Regions from separate parts of the Homo sapiens genome. Here all the other regions are linked to region 6. The links are contacts of gene promoters, found by promoter capture Hi-C in blood cells and fetal thymus (Javierre and others, 2016). All regions are on one chromosome and are shown on one strand. The core of a region is centred on a gene start or on the middle of the fragment in contact, and the rest is flanking DNA. Distances in the headings are between cores, read along the strand shown. Region 1 overlaps RAD51B (RAD51 paralog B). Region 2 overlaps RAD51B (RAD51 paralog B). Region 3 overlaps RAD51B (RAD51 paralog B). Region 4 overlaps RAD51B (RAD51 paralog B). Region 5 overlaps RAD51B (RAD51 paralog B). Region 6 holds the start of RAD51B-AS1 (RAD51B antisense RNA 1). Region 7 overlaps RAD51B (RAD51 paralog B).

What was found. The method cuts DNA at HindIII sites, captures the fragments that hold promoters and counts their contacts. A CHiCAGO score of 5 or more calls a contact.
Region 1: a contact is called between a fragment that was not itself captured here and the fragment with the promoter of RAD51B-AS1 in region 6, in 12 of 17 cell types (non-activated CD4 T cells, naive B cells, activated CD4 T cells and 9 more). The highest score is 15.2, in non-activated CD4 T cells.
Region 2: a contact is called between a fragment that was not itself captured here and the fragment with the promoter of RAD51B-AS1 in region 6, in 8 of 17 cell types (total B cells, activated CD4 T cells, M1 macrophages and 5 more). The highest score is 9.2, in total B cells.
Region 3: a fragment that was not itself captured here is called in contact with the fragment with the promoter of RAD51B-AS1 in region 6 in 10 of 17 cell types (non-activated CD4 T cells, total B cells, activated CD4 T cells and 7 more); the score reaches 11.9 in non-activated CD4 T cells.
Region 4: a contact is called between a fragment that was not itself captured here and the fragment with the promoter of RAD51B-AS1 in region 6, in 1 of 17 cell types (non-activated CD4 T cells). The highest score is 5.2, in non-activated CD4 T cells.
Region 5: a fragment that was not itself captured here is called in contact with the fragment with the promoter of RAD51B-AS1 in region 6 in 10 of 17 cell types (naive B cells, activated CD4 T cells, non-activated CD4 T cells and 7 more); the score reaches 14.0 in naive B cells.
Region 7: a contact is called between a fragment that was not itself captured here and the fragment with the promoter of RAD51B-AS1 in region 6, in 2 of 17 cell types (total B cells and naive B cells). The highest score is 7.3, in total B cells.

Annotation. Positions count from the first base shown.
Region 1 is chr14:68,293,932-68,296,631 of GRCh38, reverse strand. All of the region lies in intron 8 of RAD51B (RAD51 paralog B), which reads right to left. Among named protein-coding and RNA genes, the nearest start is that of RAD51B-AS1, 390 kb to the left of the region's middle. RefSeq lists enhancers at 924-1,033, 986-1,280 and a silencer at 1,486-1,780. The HindIII fragment of the contact is 5,664 bases long and covers 1-2,700 here.
Region 2 is chr14:68,210,855-68,213,554 of GRCh38, reverse strand. All of the region lies in intron 7 of RAD51B (RAD51 paralog B), which reads right to left. Among named protein-coding and RNA genes, the nearest start is that of RAD51B, 390 kb to the right of the region's middle. RefSeq lists an enhancer at 2,347-2,626. The HindIII fragment of the contact is 2,507 bases long and covers 25-2,531 here.
Region 3 is chr14:68,259,153-68,261,852 of GRCh38, reverse strand. All of the region lies in intron 7 of RAD51B (RAD51 paralog B), which reads right to left. Among named protein-coding and RNA genes, the nearest start is that of RAD51B-AS1, 420 kb to the left of the region's middle. The HindIII fragment of the contact is 517 bases long and covers 1,087-1,603 here.
Region 4 is chr14:68,338,444-68,341,143 of GRCh38, reverse strand. The region is part of intron 8 of RAD51B (RAD51 paralog B); the gene reads right to left. It also overlaps the pseudogene RPL7AP5. Among named protein-coding and RNA genes, the nearest start is that of RAD51B-AS1, 350 kb to the left of the region's middle. The HindIII fragment of the contact is 8,350 bases long and covers 1-2,700 here.
Region 5 is chr14:68,276,752-68,279,451 of GRCh38, reverse strand. All of the region lies in intron 7 of RAD51B (RAD51 paralog B), which reads right to left. Among named protein-coding and RNA genes, the nearest start is that of RAD51B-AS1, 410 kb to the left of the region's middle. RefSeq lists a silencer at 186-480. The HindIII fragment of the contact is 2,269 bases long and covers 201-2,469 here.
Region 6 is chr14:68,684,123-68,686,822 of GRCh38, reverse strand. RAD51B-AS1 (RAD51B antisense RNA 1) reads left to right here and starts at 1,383. Exons shown (of 4, transcript XR_007064220.1): 1 at 1,383-1,452. RefSeq lists enhancers at 1,046-1,095, 2,679-2,700. The HindIII fragment of the contact is 3,133 bases long and covers 137-2,700 here.
Region 7 is chr14:68,354,814-68,357,513 of GRCh38, reverse strand. The region is part of intron 8 of RAD51B (RAD51 paralog B); the gene reads right to left. Among named protein-coding and RNA genes, the nearest start is that of RAD51B-AS1, 330 kb to the left of the region's middle. The HindIII fragment of the contact is 3,314 bases long and covers 1-2,700 here.

The sequences.
Region 1 (2,700 bases), core at 42-2,541, 390 kb after region 6:
CCTACCAACTGTAGGTGGGCACTCATCTGGTTCTGCTCAAATCCCAGGTGACTTTGGAATAGGATATGGCATCTTAGGCCATTTGGACTGTTAGATCCCTTCTCTATTAATCACTCTGGGGGAAAGAGATGTTACCTATGACTGAGGTCCAACAGTTCTTAGTATCTCCAATGACCATAAGGAAGAATTGGCAAGGGCTAAGAAATGTGTCCTTGGCCACACAACAGTCACAATAACTGAGCAGGGAACTCTATAATAACCTATATGTCTGAACTTCTGTCAATGAAATGAAATCTGAAGAAGAAAATACTGTGACTCAAAGTACCTAGTCTAGAACAATGTAGAAAAAATCCTTATTTCTGTCCCTATCTCTTCTGTTGAATGACAGAGTGGATACTAGAAGATTGCTACAGTCTTTTCCAGCTCTAACAGTTAAGATCATAAGGAGGGCCTGAAGATCAGAAACATTCACCCAATGATAGGGTTTAATTCTGATTTACAGAGTGGGAAAAATGACTGTGTTGTTGATGTTGCCCTAAACACAACAAAAAGGACCTTCAGAAATCTTAGCATTGGTACTCTGGCATACCTGCAACAGTCTCCCCTTCCTGTATTGCTGTCTCTTTCTCACTCTGTGTACACTTCAGATCTTGTCTCTTGCTCTCTCTGCCTGTCTCCACACAAAGGTATACAAAATCAGAAGTGTGTGCAAACCAGTGAGTATGAGACACACACTGGGATTTGGGGGCGGGGGGCAAGGTCTACCCTGTCCTGTAATAGATTTCAGCTGCAGTGCACAGTACACTGCTTAAACAGTGCTCCCTTGAAAACAGTTGTGAGGTGAGAACAAGCAGCCAAGAGCAGCCAGCGATAAAATGATCTGAGTTGACCTAAGAGGAGTAGTACGCAGCAGGGGCTGACTCAGGGAAATGAAGTCCCTTCTGCTCTGATGCAGAGGAGGGAATACAAGTGACCTGGCCCAACCGAGAGATCTCTTCCACCCCAACAGATCCTGTACTATTAATATCTGCCAGCTGCAGGCCCAGAGCATCCCCCTGCTGAGATCAAAAGAGCTCCTATCTTAGCTGGAACAAGGTCATCTGCACAGGGCTGTAAAAAGCGAGCCCTGGCTGGCTGCAGGGACGTCTATGGGGGAGGAGAAGTCAGGAGATGGGAGGTGCTCTCTCACGCTCCTTTAATCTCGGCTGACCAGCTGTTGCCCTCCCAGTGTTTGTAAAGTTGAGAGTTCTTTGTTTTTGTGTTGCTGGGTCTCCCCGCCCCACCACCCTTATTAAATTTGTGGCTGAGTTGTTGGCTTGGATTAAGTAGACTCATGTTCACTGCTTGACATCATGGTATAATTCCCTTCATTGAGGTTTCATTCCACTGTTGAGTTATCCAGCTCCCAGGTGGGAGAGCCAAAGAAGGGAGAAGTACACCCCAAGGGCCAAGGACTTTCCCGGCATTGCTCCTGCCCCTGAGCTTTGTGCCTTGAGAAGGAATGAGAGGGCAAACTGAATTTTCTCTATTTACTTAAAATATCTCCTCATATTTGCAGTGTGCTTGTCAATTTGCAGCCTGCCTTTCACAAACTATCCCATTCACAAACTATTGGGAGAATGGAACTTTTGGAACTTATGCAAATTGACCAGTCACCCCATCCCAGTGTGTTTCTCATTCTCACTGGTTTGCACACACTTCTGATTTTGTACACCTTTGTGTGGAGAGAGGCAGAGAGAGCAAGAGACAGACAGACAAGACCAGAAGTGTCCCCAGAGTGACAAAGAGAAAACATACAGGGAGGAAAGGCTCCTGCAGGTATGCCGAAGTATCAGTGCTAAGATTTATTAAAGATCCTTTTTATTGTGTTTAATCTAGGGCAACATCAGCAACACGGCCATTCTTCCTACTCTGTAAGTCAGAATTAAAACCCCATCAGTGGGTGAATGCTCCTGACCTTCAGACCTACCTCATGATCTTATATGCTAGAGCTGGAAAACACTTTAGCAATCTTGTATTCTTCCAACCTGTCATGTAACAGAAGAAACTGAGACCCAAAGTCATCAAAAGGGCCTGCCTAACACCACAGTTAATAACACAATGGCAAAGCTGATACAATGAATGCTTGAAGCAAAACAGAGCAATTTATACATGCGTGTGCATGTCTGTGTGTGTGTAAATCACAGGAACTTAACATCCATTGTAATATATTTGAATGGCTATAAATGTTCTAAGACATTGTTCATTTTAATCCACTAATAAAAACCTTCATTATAGACTATAGGAATATATTTATATAGCCTCTTTATCTGCTCAGCTATACAAAAAAAAAATCTAGAAAAATCAATTATTTCCATTCTTTGTTGGATTTCTGGGAGGATAACCTGGTAACTCTTCCTTTGCTATGAACACAAGTCAGGGGTTTCTTGTGGCAGTTATACTGCAACCCTGAAGCAATTTCTTTTCTATGTGTTTTGCTCTTCTTCTTTGCTTAAGATAAACCAGGAAGGCAACACAAATAAAAGTACTTACTGATTTTCAAATAAGGAAGCAGTTTACTCTATTCTGGTCTCCTCAGAGCTGAATTAAGTGTGTGTGTATATGTGTGTATGTGTGTGTGTAATAATTATAACAATTTTTAACAATGTTCATAGGTGCTTTATATGATTCTCATGGTCACTGTTCTTCTGAAGTATTTAC
Region 2 (2,700 bases), core at 29-2,528, 470 kb after region 6:
TATTACTTGCTATCAACCTAAGCTTCCTCCTTCAAGACTTAACATACTATTTTGTTAACCTTAGCTTAGGACTTTACATTAATCTGTGTAAAATTCTGACTCACTGGTTCTAGTAGCATAATACAGTTATGAGCATGGGCTTTGGTGATAGACAAATGGTCCTCTGCCATCTGTGCCTCTTATTGGCTGTGGGACTTGGGTAAATGACTTAGCATATCTGTGCCTCTACATCTATCTATAGAATGGAATATTACTAGTATACACCTCAGAGGGTCACTGTGAGGATTAAATGAGAGAAGTCATACAACACATTTAGCATTTTGCCTGGCACACAGTAAGTACTCAATAAATGCTACATATGGTTGTTATTAGCAAATCCGCCCATCAACCTACACAGATCTTTAAAAAATCCTATCTCACTTGTTGCAAAAGCACATTATTTGTGCTTTCGTCAGAAATTTTTAATGAGAAAATTGGATAGAACAGCATCACTAGACAGGTTCCTGAGGCTTACCCTGAGGACCCCTCTCCAGATGGACATTAGTCCATCCATCAGGTCAAAACTGCCAGTGGACATTTGTTCAACCAGCTATGAATCTACTTAACCTCAACAAGACAACAAGAGTATCATAAAAATCTTAGCCAAACTCCTCCCAGAAATAAAAATCTATCCCTTGACATTTCCATAACCAATAAGATGAACTGTGAAAGACTTTAAGGATGTTAGAAATAGGAATGTTTTGTTTTCAATGAGCTCATATTGACTCCTAATAATCACATTTTTCTCACACGTAATCATTCAGTAATCCACTCTAAAAATTTGCTGAAGATCAATGTCCTGTGCATTCTGGAACATGTCTTCTTCTTCACTCCATTTCTTCAAAATTAGGATAGTGTCCAGTGCCATTTTCCATTACTATGACACCAAACCCTATTGCTATCATTTCTCATAAATGATGTGATTACACTGGCAAATTCTGTCACTACCCAGTGCTGTGGTTCCAATGGAAAGTCCCCAGTAGTGAGTTAGGAGGGTTCTAAACCAGTCCAAATTGTTCAGCAAACTGCTGACCACCCAAAGGACACACATGGTGGTATTTACCTTGCTGCTGGTGCTGCTGTTGTTGCTGCTGCTAACAGCTCTATGTAAGGCTCTGAGTCAAGTATTTTACATGGATTGTCTAATTTAATTCTCAAAACAGCCCTCTGAGGTCAGTGTAAAGATAATATCCTTTTTAGAGCGGGGTCTTAGGTCATACAGCATGTAAGTGGCTGACCTAGTATTCAAACCCAGTTCAATCAGATTCTAGAGCCAAACTTCCAACCAAGTGCCATATTATCTCCCTTTTTTACTAAATGGCACTATTTCATTGTATGAACTGTACAGCTTGGGTCCAGTCCCAGCCTTGCAGGCACAGAAATTTGACCTTGTCAGTATCCCAGAGTTGAATAGACTTAGGCATGATGCCTTCCCCTGACGAAGTTCACAACAAACTGGTGGAGCAAACGAGAATGCCAATGTGTTGATTTACAACAGTTATGTATCTGTCATACAGACCATAACAATCTGACCAGAGCATTTTTCCCTTTAGAGGGTTCTACTTACAGAGGCAAACTGTAAACACAAGACATCATAATAGGAGGCATTTGCTATAGAACTTGAATGTTAAATTGAATTTCCAACAAAGAAGGACTTGCCAGTGACACTGAAACTTTGAAGACTACCAACATTCACATTTCTATGGACAGTTACTGTGGGTACAGGGCACAACCAGTGTTTGCCTCTGGGTGCTTCTGATGTCGACCAACCCCCTTTCTGACACACTGGTGCATTACTTACGTCTAGGCCAGTCTTTGGCCTAGAGACAATGACTTTCCTTAGGTGACTTTCCACAACTATGCTCTGATATCTGATGGTTTTATATATTAATTTATTTCCCAACCAAGTTGTTGAGTAACCTTCCCCACCATATCTAGTCTACAATCTATAATATAATTCACTCTGGCCTAAGGCCTTTAATTCATTTAAGAAAGCTAGGAGCTCTCCTACTTTCTTATGTTTTATTTTTCTTTTTTCCCCCTTAAAGCCATGTATACCATATTCAGTTGGCAACACAAAAGAGGTGCTACAATAGTGAAGGTGGTACAAAAACAGGACCTGAGATGTTCTTTTCATTCTTCTATCTTCTCCAAACATTGGTTTCAATGGGGAAAGCGGGTGGAGGGAGGGCAATGTGATTAGAGAGATTCTTGCAGGCAGGGAGCAAGGCCCTTGAACTAAAAGTGGAAGTAGCCTTATATTCAGATAAATCAGTCACTAGGCACTGGGTGGGGAGGGGAAAGGGTCACAAAGAATGTTCTGAGCTAGGCCACTTAATGATTTTAGACATGCCTACCTAGGAAATGCACCATGTGGCAATGCTCTTGTTCTGACCACAGCACATTAGTCAGAGAAACATCCTCAGAGAGAAGATCAAGGAAGACAAGGCACATGTTTGAGTGTGGGAACACAACTGACACTAAGTGAAGCTTGACAACCTGAAAATGAAAGTGACTGGAAATGAAGTGAAACCATTCTGTTAGTAAAGAATGGAATGCGAAAATGAAATGAACATTTTAAATAGAGCACACTGCCCTTCATTTTACTTGGTGACTCAGCCTGGGAGTTTCTGTAATACATACAGAATTCTGTTTGGTGAA
Region 3 (2,700 bases), core at 96-2,595, 420 kb after region 6:
CACCTCTTTTCTTCTCACAAAATTCAGTGACAACCCTATACCTGTTACTGGTTTGGGGGCAAGGGGTGAATGTGAGTCCCAGTTCTGCTCACTTTGGGATAAGCAGGGATTTAAAAATACCTAATATAGAGGGTTACATCTTACGTGGGGATTGTATTCTAGAGTTGGCATGTAAGGCAAATTTTACGCGGTCAAAATTACCCTGGAAAATCCCTTAAACCTCCCAATACAAAATATATGGTTTTGTAGTTGCAACGCTGCACACTATATGGGTATATAGTAATATGAATAGCATATAATTAAAAGTACAAGTGCAAAATACAATTCTGCAGTATTTTTAATTATATACAAGAAAGAGAGAGTGCACAGTTGAACTTGAATACATTAAACGGGGTGCTGATGCTACTCTTCTGTATCTTTCACCTCAACTCCCACAGTCTTTTCGCACACTTCTAAATAGGCTTAAGGGCTCCATTTACATGAAAAGACAGACAGCTCCGGGAACCTTTGAGGCCTTCTCTTAAGATACACAATCACCACAAAAGGAAAAGGGAGAGCATTCTTTCACACAGATCTCTTTTCCTGTTTTTGCCTTGTGGCAGGAACAAAAGAAGATTTCTGAAAGAGAAAGCCGGTAAAAACTGCGGGCCAATAACTTCTACACTAGGCTGTGAAAGATGCCCAATTTCAAAATGCTTCCTTAAGCTGCAACATCCACAGCACACAGCCTTGAGGAGGTGCAAGGGTCTTCGTGACCAATTGCCCTAAAGTCTTTGAAGGATATGAGACCTTAAGAAAAAATTGATTCTATGAAATCATGCAGAATGAATTAAAAGGAGCATTCTAGCCCAAGTCTGAGATAAAACAAAGGTTAGATTAGGCATTTCAGAACTAATGGAAGATTAACAATTGTTGTGAATGTACTTAATGTACTTACTGTTTTTTAAGACCTTATTATCTAAGTATATCTTCAAATATGACATCAGGTAATTGTTTATGTTAGCTGTTGAATGTTCCTCTAAATGTGAGAAAATCAGCTTATAGCATGATAGAGTGCAGAAAATGCTACCCCCAAATATGGAAGCTTGGCGCACTGAGTATTAAGCTGAAGGAAGTTAAGAAAACTGCAGAAGCAAAAAGGTCTCTCTGACCTTCTCTCTTGAAGACCCTCATGAGACAGGTGTCTTGACTATACCCGGAGGGATGGAATGTTAAACACAGAGGCCAAGAAGAAACTAAACAAACAGGCTTTGCTAAGATCCCCCTAGTTTATCATCATTAGGTCATATCTGCTTTTTGTCCAACTATACTTCTACATGACTGTCCATGCTTCATCAAACCTAACCATAATAATACAGCTTTCCTTGGGTCTGGATCTTAATTTCTGAAGGCTCCTGCATCATGTAAAACTTTGGTTAAATAAATGTGCTATGCTTTTCTCTTGTTAATCTCCTTTGTTATAGAGGTGTCAGCCATGAAACTTGTGAGGTAATTACTCCCCTACTATCTCTACCCCCGCTGTCTTCCCCTCTCCACACACACACACACACACACGGTCTCTCAGCCACACTGGCCCTCTTTTTGTTCTGGGATACTCTAAGCTTACTCCTATCCCAGAGCCTTTGCACCAGATATTTCTTTCTATTTGAATATGTTTTCCTCACTTTTCCCAAGACCCATGGGGATGCTTCTCATGACTTAGGTCTCAGCTAATGCAAGTCCTCCTCATAGAGGCCTCCTCTGCTCACCCATTTTATAGCAGCCAGTCTCCACACCCCCCCATTATCACTTTCCTTAGTTTTATTTCCCTGGTCAAATATATCACCACTCGAAAATATCTTATATATTTGTTATTTTGTGTATTATCTGAATTCTTCCACTGGAATGAAAGCTCCTTGAGGACAGGACCTCTGTCTTTTTCACCACTTTCTCAATGCCCAACACATGCCTGGCCCGGAGTAGATGCCCAATAAATATATAATGAAGGAATAAATGACTCTCAGGCAAAACAGTGATATAGCCATAGCCATATCGCTGCTTGGTCCACAGTATCATGGTCAAGACACCATGCTTAACTGGTGCCTGCTACCTAAGCACTAGAAAAGGGGCTAGGGAGGGAAATAAAGTGCCATGAGCTCAACTTGCAGATCTGTGCTGACCCTTAATCTGCTATCTATCTTGCTTTGGGATCATACAAAATTATGGCCATTTATAACCACATGTGGCAGATTACCACTGGCTTTACACAGCTAACCTTGTCTAATTCTTCTTCAGTCTCTTAAAAAAAAGATAAATGCCATCTTGTTAAATTACACATGATAACCTAGCAAAAACTTCTGAGTACTCTATTTGTGCTCTGAGCTTTTATTTTTTTATGTTTATTTATTTTTATTTTATTATTATTATACTTTAAGTTTTAGGGTACATGTGCACAACGTGCAGGTTTGTTACATATGTATACATGTGCCATGTTGGTATGCTGCACCCATTAACTCCTCATTTAGCATTAGGTATATCTCCTAATGCTATCCCTCCCCCCTCCCCCTACCCCACAACAGTCCCCGGTGTGTGATGTTCCCCTTCCTGTGTCCTCACTCACAGGTGGGAATTGAACAATGAGAGCTTTTAAATCATCCTCCCTTGCTTTGCATTTCGTTCAAGAACAGGGGCCATGACAGGGCAGAGCTTTGTGGAAGCTGG
Region 4 (2,700 bases), core at 171-2,670, 350 kb after region 6:
AAAGAGATTAAATTCATTTTCAGTTCTAATTTAGTCATTAACATTGTGCTTTGCCTTAACATTCTCTCTGCCCAGCTCATCTTAGTGGCATCTTCAAGGTAAAATCACCTTTGATATGTGAAAATTCTTGCTTCTCACCTTCCCTGAAGGGGAAAATATCAGCAAAATTATAATTTGAAATTGTAATGAACTCTATTTCCCTGCTTCTTAACCTATAAGGATGAAATGGGACAAGTGAAAACATCTAGAGATCTCTGAGTGCCAAAGGCAGACTGTTCTCCATTGCTTTCATATTTTACTTCCCTAACCAGATTTCAATGTCCTAGAGAGCCAAGCGTCATGGATGTCTTGGGATATCCCAAATATGCAAGATGGTATAGGAGCCTAGGGAAAACCTCCCCTTCAACCTCTGAGTGTTTACTGAAAATCAACTGACAAAAGGCAGGTTAATAGGAAAAAAGGCATACAAAAATAGTAATATGCACGCATGTGCACAGGAGTTATAAAAAATAAGAAAAACTCAAAGAAAGGGTCAGATAGTTGAAGTTTTCATCCTGAGGTTACAGAAGGAATAGAGGCTTAGAGTCTGGCAAGACCAGTTATGGGTGGAAGAGAAGAAAAGCATGGCTAGCAAAGGCAGTCTTGTAATGCAGATGAAACCTCACAGGTAGCAGCCCTCCAAAAGAGTAAGTTTCTATTAGATCCCCAGAGGTGTCAAACTCTCAGTCTCTCTCTCCCAGGAGCCCATCTGTCCTAGATCCAGACAAGTCACAGCACAGAAAGGCTGGCTGTTTATTTCAGCAATGTAGATTTTCTCTACAGATGTAAATCTCCCCCACAAAAGGTAGTTTTACAGGGCTATTCCTGTCTGCAGGTTCTCTGAATAGCCATCTCAAATATGTCAAAGAAGTATATTTGAGGGTGAAGTATTTTGGTTTCCTTTAATGGTAAAAAAAGGAAGAAGGAAAGATGTATTTACTTTCCTTGGTAACTCATTGTATCGGTCCAAAGACACCTTGAAGTTATTTCTGATAAATATTTCTAAGTAAACACTATTAGTAAAATACTATTGAATACTAACCATGTGCCAGGCACTATGTTACATTCCTCCTAAAAACATTTCTTCTTTTTTTAACCCTTGTGTAGACAAAGAAAAAGTAGCAGCCTTCTCTCTAAAAGATCATTATATGGTCACATCTCAGCACTGCCTATGATTAAACTACCTCAATTTCTTTAAACATTCTTTATTGTGATGATTAAAATTATATACATTGTAGAAAATGACTGTGCTATTAGATTGCTATCTTACTGTACTACTTTTCAACTTTTACTACTTAGGAGAGGCAGATTTCCCAATTCTCTAATTTTCTCAACATTTAGACTGATCCCTATTTATAAGAGGAAGAACTAGGCTTAGAGAGAGAACAGTACATTCAATGTTCATCTTAGTGGCATCTGTAACGTTAAATCACCCCTGATATATGAAAATTGTTGCTTTTCACCTTCTTTAAAGGCGAAAATATCATCAATAAAACTGAAATTAGAAACAAAGTTATTTGGTATAATGCTAGATGAAAAATATGGCAACCATAAGTCTCTCCTCCCGCCACCCAAGATGCTGAAAGGAAAGAAAGCCAAGGAGAAAAAATGGCTCCAGCTCCTGCTGTCATAAAGAAGCAGGAGGCCAAGGAAGTGGTGAATCCCCTGTTTGAGAAAAGGCTTAAGAATTTTGGCATTGGACAGGATATCCAGCCCCAAAGAGACCTCACCCGCTTTGTGAAATGGCCCCACTATATCAGGTTGCAGCGGCAGAGAGCCATCCTCTGTAAGTGGATGTAAGTGCCTCCTGCCATTAACCAGTTCACCCAGGCCCTGGACCACCAAACAGCTACTCAGCTGCTTAAGCTGGCCCACAAGTACAGGCCAGAGACAAAGCAAGAGAAGAAGCAGAGGCTGTTGGCCCAGGCCAAGAAGAAAGCTACCAGCAAAGGGGACATCCCCACTAAGAGACCACCTGTCCTTCGAGCAGGAGTTAACATGGTCACCACCTTGGTGGAGAACAAGAAAGCTCAGCTGGTGATGACTGCACACGATGTCGATCCCATCGAGCTGGCTGTCTTCTGCCTGCCTGCCCCATGTTGTAAAAAGGGGGTCCCTTACTGCATTATCAAGGGGAAGGCAAGACTGGGACATCTAGTCCACAGGAAGACCTGCACCACTGTTGTCTTCACAAAGGTTAACTCGGAAGACAAAGGAGCTTTGGCTAAGCTGGTGGAAGCTATCAGGACCAACTACGACAGATACGATGAGATCCACTGTCACTGGGGAGGCAATGTCCTGGGTCTCAAGTCTGTAGCTCACATTATCAAGCTCGAAAAGGCAAAGGTTAAAGAACTTTGCCACTGAACTGGGTTAAATGTACACTGTTGAGTTTTCTGTCCATAAAAATAATTAAAATAATACAAAATTTCCTTCAAAAAAGAAAAAAAATATGGCAAGCATAAAGATACACTTTGAGATAGCTAAATAGCCTCCAAACTTAACCTACACATGGGTGGGCCCTTGGCAGCCATGTTTAAGCCATGTTGTCTGGTTGGATTAAGGGCAGACATATCACCTGTGCCAGACTGATCAGATCCTCTCTCAGGAATTTAGATTCATTGATGCTAGTCTCCCTGGGCTGGGAAGTCGAACTAAGGA
Region 5 (2,700 bases), core at 86-2,585, 410 kb after region 6:
CCATGATCCCTTTGAAAAAAGGGACACAGAAGCTGGAAACACTGACTACCAATCCTACATACCTAAAGTCCCACTGAATTCAGAATCCTGGAGTTCTGAGCAAATCTCATGGAAGCCGTCCTGCCTTCATCAAGGCCTGGAAAGGCATCACTGCCGAGAACAGATGCCCACATGCTTTGGAATGAGAGGACAAGCAAGCTTTTTTCTGTCTGGTTATTGACAACACGGTGTTCCTTCTCATGGACTCCTCCTGCCCTCCCTAGCACCACACTGAAATGACTAAATCTGCCTGTTGGCTCCAGTGAATCCAGTCAAATAAGTCAATTCTCTTTAAGTTTGTGGTCTCAACTCCTTGTTGGTTTATTGCAAAATTAAAGGGCATACAGAGTAGAACCATCAATCAGTAACCAGCAGAGGAATAAGCTCTTTGTGGAATGTACTGAGAAGCAGGAAAGAAGAAAAAATGAAAAGAAACCTCATGAAATGGTCATTTGTTAGGAGAACAGAAAAAAAAAAATCTGCATTTCACATGCAACATCATTTAGGAAAAGTCTTATTAAAGGTTTCCTATCTCACCAGGAGAGCAAGCACAGGAACGCAAAGAAAAATCCCTCAAAATGACCTGCCATCTATTAGTGCTGGTTTCTTGTGGGTTTTGCTGTATTCCATAGACACAGCCTGAGATCATGTGGCCCAAGGGCTGGAACAGTGACTCAGCAGGCTCAGGACCAGGGAAAGGAGATGAGAAGCCACTGTTGTTTATTACAAAACAAAACAAACAAACAAACAAATGTAACTGGCTCTTTCAGCCCTCTACCGCATGCTGACCTTCCCTTAGCACCCCTTTATTTAAAGTACCCAGTGCCATGTCTTACTTGGAATTTTTAACAAATGCAATTTGATCAGGGTGAAAACTGAAGAGCACTACATAGTCTAGACAAAGAAAACTAACATTTACTGGGTACCCAGTGAGTATCAAACACCATGTTCAGTGCCTTAGTTACAGACCTCCTTTCATCCTCATCGTAACACCATGAGGTAGGTGACATTATTCCTCTTTTAAGGATAAAGATATTAAGTGACTTGCCTGGCTTGCAGCAAGCAGCAACATCAATGTGACTACAAAATCCCTTCTTTCAAATAGATTCACCATTTCAAGCATGGCACCAGGAAAACTACTATGTGGCATTCTAAATCCTTCTGGAAGAAATGAAATTGGTAGTACTGGAAATAGTATAAGGGTAACTCACCAGCTGTGTCTACCTTGTACATTTTTTTCTCTAGATAAATTTCTTCTCTAGGGCAACTAGTATTGCCTATTTCATAGGAGAGAAAAGCAAGATGCCAAGAAGTGTAGGAAATTTCTGGCACTGGTAGGCAAAAGAGCCAATAGAACACAGCACGCCTCTGGCTGGTCGCAGTGGCTCACGCCTGTAATCCCAACATTTTGGGAGGCCAAGACGGGCAGATCATTTTAGTCCAGGAGTTCAAGACCAGCCTGGCCAACATGGCAAAACCCTGTCTCTACCAAAAATACAAAAATTAGCCAGGCATGGTGGCACGCGCCTATAGTCCCAGCTATTTGGTAGGCTGAGGCACATGAGAGAATTGCTTGAACCTGGGAGACGGAGGTTGCAGTGAGCCAAGATTATGCCACTACACTCCAGCCTGGATGACAAAGCGAGACTCTGTCTCAAAAACAAACAAAAAAAACCCCCAGAACATACCTCTGATTCTCACCTGTGGCAAGATGTAGCCTTTGAAATACTATGGTAATAGATAAGAATTATTTACATTGCTTTAAAATAATGAACGGGCCATATATATAATATACACATTTATATGAATATAAAATTTCATCTGAACATCTTTATCAACATCAATAAGGTATATATTATATCTCTTTCCGTATCAGAGAGAAAAAGTGACTTGCCTAAAGTTTACAGCATATAAATGGGCCTAAACCCAAGTCTGACTCCATATCTCATGGTCTTTACATTCCTTGATCCTGAAGGGGAGGGCACCTCCCAGAAAAAGAGGCAGACTGACGGTGAAAGAATAACCTCCATGAGAAAGCTAGGTCTTACTGGCTTTCTGAAATAAGGATGAGCTGCTTGTGAATTGTTATGTCCCGTGGAACTGGATCTTGGCTTCTCCTTTTTCTCTACACAGGTTTGACTATTAATAATAGCATTAGGACCTATGGCTGTCTCTGAGGGTTGTCGTCCATTACTAATGTGAGGCTCCTCGTAAGTGCTGGTTATGGTTTATGAGTAGTGGTCCCCTTCATTAATTCAGCCAAAGAGCTTCCAAGAGAGGACTATGGAAGTAAGAAGTGAGAGAAACCCATACCTGGGACTAAGGAGGTTCAGAGTGAGATTGCAAGGAGGTTAAAGAGTAAAGTTTATATTTAAGGCTTCCTTCCCTAACACTCACCATGTTCTCTCCGTCCTGAGTACTCCATAAGCTTTGTACACTCATCTTTTCAAGTGCAGCTAAAAGTGGGACCTGCTCCCCGACATCCTTTTCCCAGTAGCCAGTACTACCTCGGAGGGCTTTGAGGGCCCAAGACCCCATCCCTGTGCCATCCACCACTGCTCATAAATCTACACAGTCCTTTCTTCCCTACCCTCTTTCTGATGAACTAAGTCTTAAATATGTCTTACAGATGACTTTTGCTACAGAGCTGTGTATTTTTGA
Region 6 (2,700 bases), core at 134-2,633:
CAAAATCATAAAGATGAAAAGGAGAATGGTAGTTGCCAGGGGCTGTGAGGAGGGGAAAGAGGAGTCAGTGTTTAATGGGCACAGAGTTTCAGTTTGGAAAGATGAAAAAGTTCTGGAGAGAGATGACGGGGAAGCTTATACAACGATGTGAATGTACTTAATGCCACTGAATTGTACACTTAAACATGGGTAAAATGGTAGCTTTTACGTTAGGTATATTTTACCAGGATAAAAAGTTTTTTGTGTTTGAAAATATACCCTCTAATAGACTCAGAGTTGCTGACAGGCCCTCTCCATGGGTTGATGTAACCGTCTCCTTACCTCAAGACGAGGTTGACCCATCCAAGATTGGAGGGAACTTATCCTATTTTCAGATTATTTCCAGGGAAGGGAGCCCATGACATTATTAGGCAATCTTTTCCAGTGTCTCAAAACCCCAGACATTCTGGGTACCAGACCTTTCCTGCTGCACCTGAAGTTGATTTTCCTTGGTCAGTAAGTGCTTTGTCAGGCCACAGACTTTTCATGCACTCAAAGGCTCTAGTTACACCATCCCTAGCGTAGATCTGATGGTGCCAAGTAACAAGCCAGCAAGTGGACTTTGGAGGCCCAGCAAGCCTCCCTGTCTCACAGGCTTCTCATCAGTATAATGGATAAACAGTGCGAGGCTTGGATTCCTAAGCAGTCCTGGGACACAGGCCCCGCCAGGCCCTGGCAGGTGAAGAGCCTACCATTTCTCACTTCATTTAGGATGTATAATAGTTTGTTGGACGCTAGAACTGTACCCTTTCAGATCTGTGTCTTTACTTTTCAGCTGGAGGCCTCTTGCTGACAGGGTAGCGTTTCCCAAAGACACGGGAGCTGAGCTGGTGAGTCATTTCAACAGCCCTTACACTCTCCTCTGACCAGAGACCACATGACATATTAATCAGCTGCTTGAAAGGTATACCTGGCAGGCATGTTTCCTGCAGCCTGGAAGATGCTGACCTCGTCAGCTTTGAAACATCAAAGGGCTAACAAGAGAACAACAGGCTGAGAAAGACCTCATCACCTGGGTGCCTGTTGACCGCAGCCTTGTAAGGCCCAACACAGCTGAGATGTGCTGTCTGGAGCTCGGAGGAAGTGGAGCTTTTTCTGCTGTGAGGACCCGCCTTCAGCCCCCTTTTGGGGCACAGGAAGGGGAGGGAGTGAGCCTAAATTGTGGCCCCATGCTTAGTGACTCAGATGTTACTGCTACCACAAAGGGAAATTCATGTGGGGGTGGACATCTCCAGAGACCTCACTCACCTGTGATTTGGGGGATAATAGCATCACTCATGTGTTCACGTGCCAGGCCTGTCACCCCGGAACATTAGTCAAAGGGCTGTGTTGACAGTGATTTCAACTCTTGAATTATACGAAGGACCTGGCCGCAAGAAGGCATTGAGCCCCGAGGAGGACAACAGGCCTCAGGTACTTCATGTGATTAAAGCTGAGACAAGGGGAGTCCCATGGGTCAGTCCTGTAACTGGGGTCTGATATACACTAGTGATAGGCATTAGCATAGTTTGCACATTATATGATAGTCTTGGTCCTTTTCATTTCCTGATAAGCTGGAATGTCTGACAGAGTAAATTCCAGATGCCCTTGTGGAATTCTCATTACGATCATGTTGCTAAGGAACTGTCTTCTACCTGTATGCAATTTGGAAATACTATTAATAGTATTAACATGGAGTTTTGCAGTGTGTGGGTTTATTTCTTATTGTATTTATAATCACCCCCACCACTACCTTCCCACCGCTGGCTCACCATCTGAGGAGCTGGCATCAGGAAACTCAAGAAAGAAGGAAGGAAGGAAGGAAGGAAGGAAGGAAGGAAGGAAAGAAGGAAGGAAGGAAGGGAAAGGTTGTCCAGGCTTCACAGGAAGAACTGCATTTGTATTATTCTGTATTGAATTCTCAGGACCTCCACATTGCAGGCATCTAGAGGCTCCAATTAATAGTTGATAAATCTTGAAGGGAGGAAAAAATAGTCACAGAAAGTTCACTTGAGTGACCTGAAATTCTATAGCAATTTAGCCAGGGAGCCGGGAGGAGAATATGCCCTTCCAACTTGCAGGCCAGCTCTCTGCAGGAAGCCAGGCAGCTCTCCCAGGGGAAGCAGTGGCCAGGGCAAGCATGGGTCTTGAAGCTCAGGACTGGCTTTAGGACTCTGGCTCAGACAAGATGGGTGGCTCAAAGGTATTGAAGGGCTAGGTAGGGCCCTGAAAATTGGGCCTTTCTGCAGCAATCATCAGGGAGACTAATGGTCCTGGGCTAGGGAAGGAGTCTTCTTGGCCCAGAATGGCCAAGCAGCCAAATATTAGAGCACCTCCAGGGAGGTGTCCCTGGAAAGGGTCCTCCCCCAGTCAGCTCCTGCGGAGTGCAGGCAGGTTTGGGGGTCTCTCCTCTAGGAGAGATCCAGGGAGCTTGAGAGCAAAAGTGACAATGTGCCTGCCTTCTTCCTTCTCTGTAGGGCTCTGTTCTCTTTCTTCTTTTTTGAGGCAGGATCTTTTGCTTTATTGTCCAGGTTGGAGTGCAGTGGCATGATCACGGCTCACTGCAGCCTCAGCCTCCTGGGCTCAAGCAATCCTCCCACCTCAGCTTCCTGAGTAGCTGAGACCATGCCTGGCTAATTTTTAAGTTTTTTTGTAGAGACGAGGTCTCATTGTGTTGCCCAG
Region 7 (2,700 bases), core at 42-2,541, 330 kb after region 6:
TCTAGAAAGGATTCAGCATTCTAGATGCCATTCAGAAGATTCGTGATTCATAGGAGGAGGTCAAAATACCATCCTTAATAGGAGCTTGGAATAAGATTCTAACCTTCATGAATGACTTTGAGGGGTTCAAGACTTCATTGGAAGAAGTTACTGCAGATGTGGCGGAAATAGCAAGAGAATTAGAATTAGAAATGGAGCCCGAATATGTGACTGAATTGCTGCAATCTCATGACAAAACATGATGAGGAGTTGCTTCTTTTGGATAAGCAAAGAAAGTGGTCTCTTGAGATGGAATCTACTGGTGAGGATGCTATGAACAATGTTGAAATGACAACAAGGGATTTAGAATATCACAGAAACTTAGTTGACAAAGCAGTGGCAGGGTTTGAAAGGATTGACTCCAATTTTGAAAGAAGTTCTACCGTGGATAAAATGTTATCAAACAGCATGACATGCTACAGAGCAATCTTTCATAAGAGTCAATCCATAAGGCAAACTTCATTATTGTCATTTTTTTTTTTTTTTTTTTTTGAGACGGAGTCTCGCTCTGTCGCCCAGGCTGGAGTGCAGTGGCGGGATCTCGGCTCACTGCAAGCTCCGCCTCCCGGGTTCATGCCATTCTCCTGCCTCAGCCTCCCAAGTAGCTGGGACTACAGGCGCCCGCCACCGCGCCCGGCTAATTTTTTTTGTATTTTTAGTAGAGACGGGGTTTCACCGTTTTAGCCGGGATGGTCTCGATCTCCTGACCTCGTGATCCGCCCGCCTCGGCCTCCCAAAGTGCTGGGATTACAGGCGTGAGCCACCGCGCCCGGCCTATTGTCATTTTTTAAGAAATTGCTACAGCCACTCCAACCTTCAGCAACCACCCCCTGAACAGTCAGCAACCTTCAACACTAAGGCAAGACCCTTCACCAGCAAGATTATAACTCACTGAAGGCTCCGATGATCCCTAGCATTTTTTTTTTTAGCAATTAAGTATTTTAAATTTAGGTAATCTATATTGTTTTTAAAAAATATAATACTATTGCACTTTTAATAGAGTAGAGTGTAAACATAACTTTTTTTTTTTTTTTTTTTTTGAGACGGAGTCTCGCTCTGTCGCCCAGGTTGGGGTGCAGTGACACAACCTCGGCTCACTGCAAGCTCCGCCTCCTGGGTTCACGCCATTCTCCCGCCTCAGCCTCCGGAGTAGCTGGGACCACAGGCGCCCGCCACTGCACCCGGCTAATTTTTTTGTATTTATTTAGTAGAGACGGGGTTTCACCCTGTTAGCCAGGATAGTCTCGATCTCCTGACCTTGTGATCCGCCCACCTCGGCCTCCCAAAGTGCTGGGATTACAGGCGTGAGCCACCGCGCCCGGCCAACATAACTTTTATATGCACTGGGAAACCAAAAAATGTATTTCACTTTATTGCAATATTTACTTTATTGCAATGGTCTGGAACCATGTCTACAATATCCTCAAGATATGGCTATATAACCTGGGAGATAATTAGACAAATTTGGAAATCTGGATGTAAAAGAATGTTTACTGCAATTTTTAAATGATAGTAAGCAATATAAAAAAACCTAAATGAATAATAATTGGGAAATGCATAAATGGATAATAGCACAGCTGTTTAATGGAATATTATATACTGTCACTATAATTAATGGTGTCATTATTTATGGACATAGAGTTGTCCACAATGAGAAAGTACACTCTTGTTTTCTAACAATGGCACATGGAAGTATAATATGCACATTCTGAGAGTGATCTGGAGAGTTGCTCACCAAAATGTTATTTCTCTCAGCAGTAGGATTTAAATTGACTTTTCCATTTTTCCTTTGTACTTTTAGTCATTTTAAAACTAGAAAACAATAATAACAATAATTCTATTTTCACTTTGGTAGAAAAAAAAACCCAAACCACTGAACCAATCTCCAGCTGTGACCAGCAAGTCTCATGAATTTTATTCAGTCCGGTTCCAGGGAGGTATTTACCAGAATGACAACCATGGCCAACTGATATTAGAAAGAGTTTATTAATATCAGGAATAGATGGGCGAGATTAAATTGGAGAATCTAATAGACCCAAAACCCCAGTTCCACTTTACTTTCTGTTGTTTCCAAAATCAGAATGAAGCCAGTAACAAAATGAGGAGCTAAACGTTTTAGGCAAATCTTTTTGCATTCCAGGTAACATTAAGGTGAATTCTAAAATGCTCAATCTATTTTGAGGATATTGGAGCTAACCTACCACTCAATAAAATTTGTATTAATGTTTTCTTTATGAAACTCAAAGAGTTAACAAACAAATATGTCTCCAAAAAATAGGCAACATAAGAAATGGGACATAAAAAATACATCTGTACTAGTCCCACCAAAGCAAGAGTGCCATCTCTACAGTATGGGAGCTCCCATTGGGCGGCTGCCTATATCCCTCCAGTGACAAGATGGGGTTCTTTTTACTGTGCATCACGGTCCCCTCTACAGCCAGAGAGCTTACTCACTAGAGTTCTTCCTAAAAAGCCTGAAGGTACTCGGATAGTACCCTAATACTGGGATTATCTTCTCATTTCACAGAAAGGGAAATCGAGTCACAATGAGGCCAAGAGGCTTAAACTTGGCATTTCAGACCTCAGAGCTTGAAATGGGGCTCCCACGTCAAAATTCTGTCCTGAGTCCACTACTTCTTTTTGCTACTTGAATCATGAGCA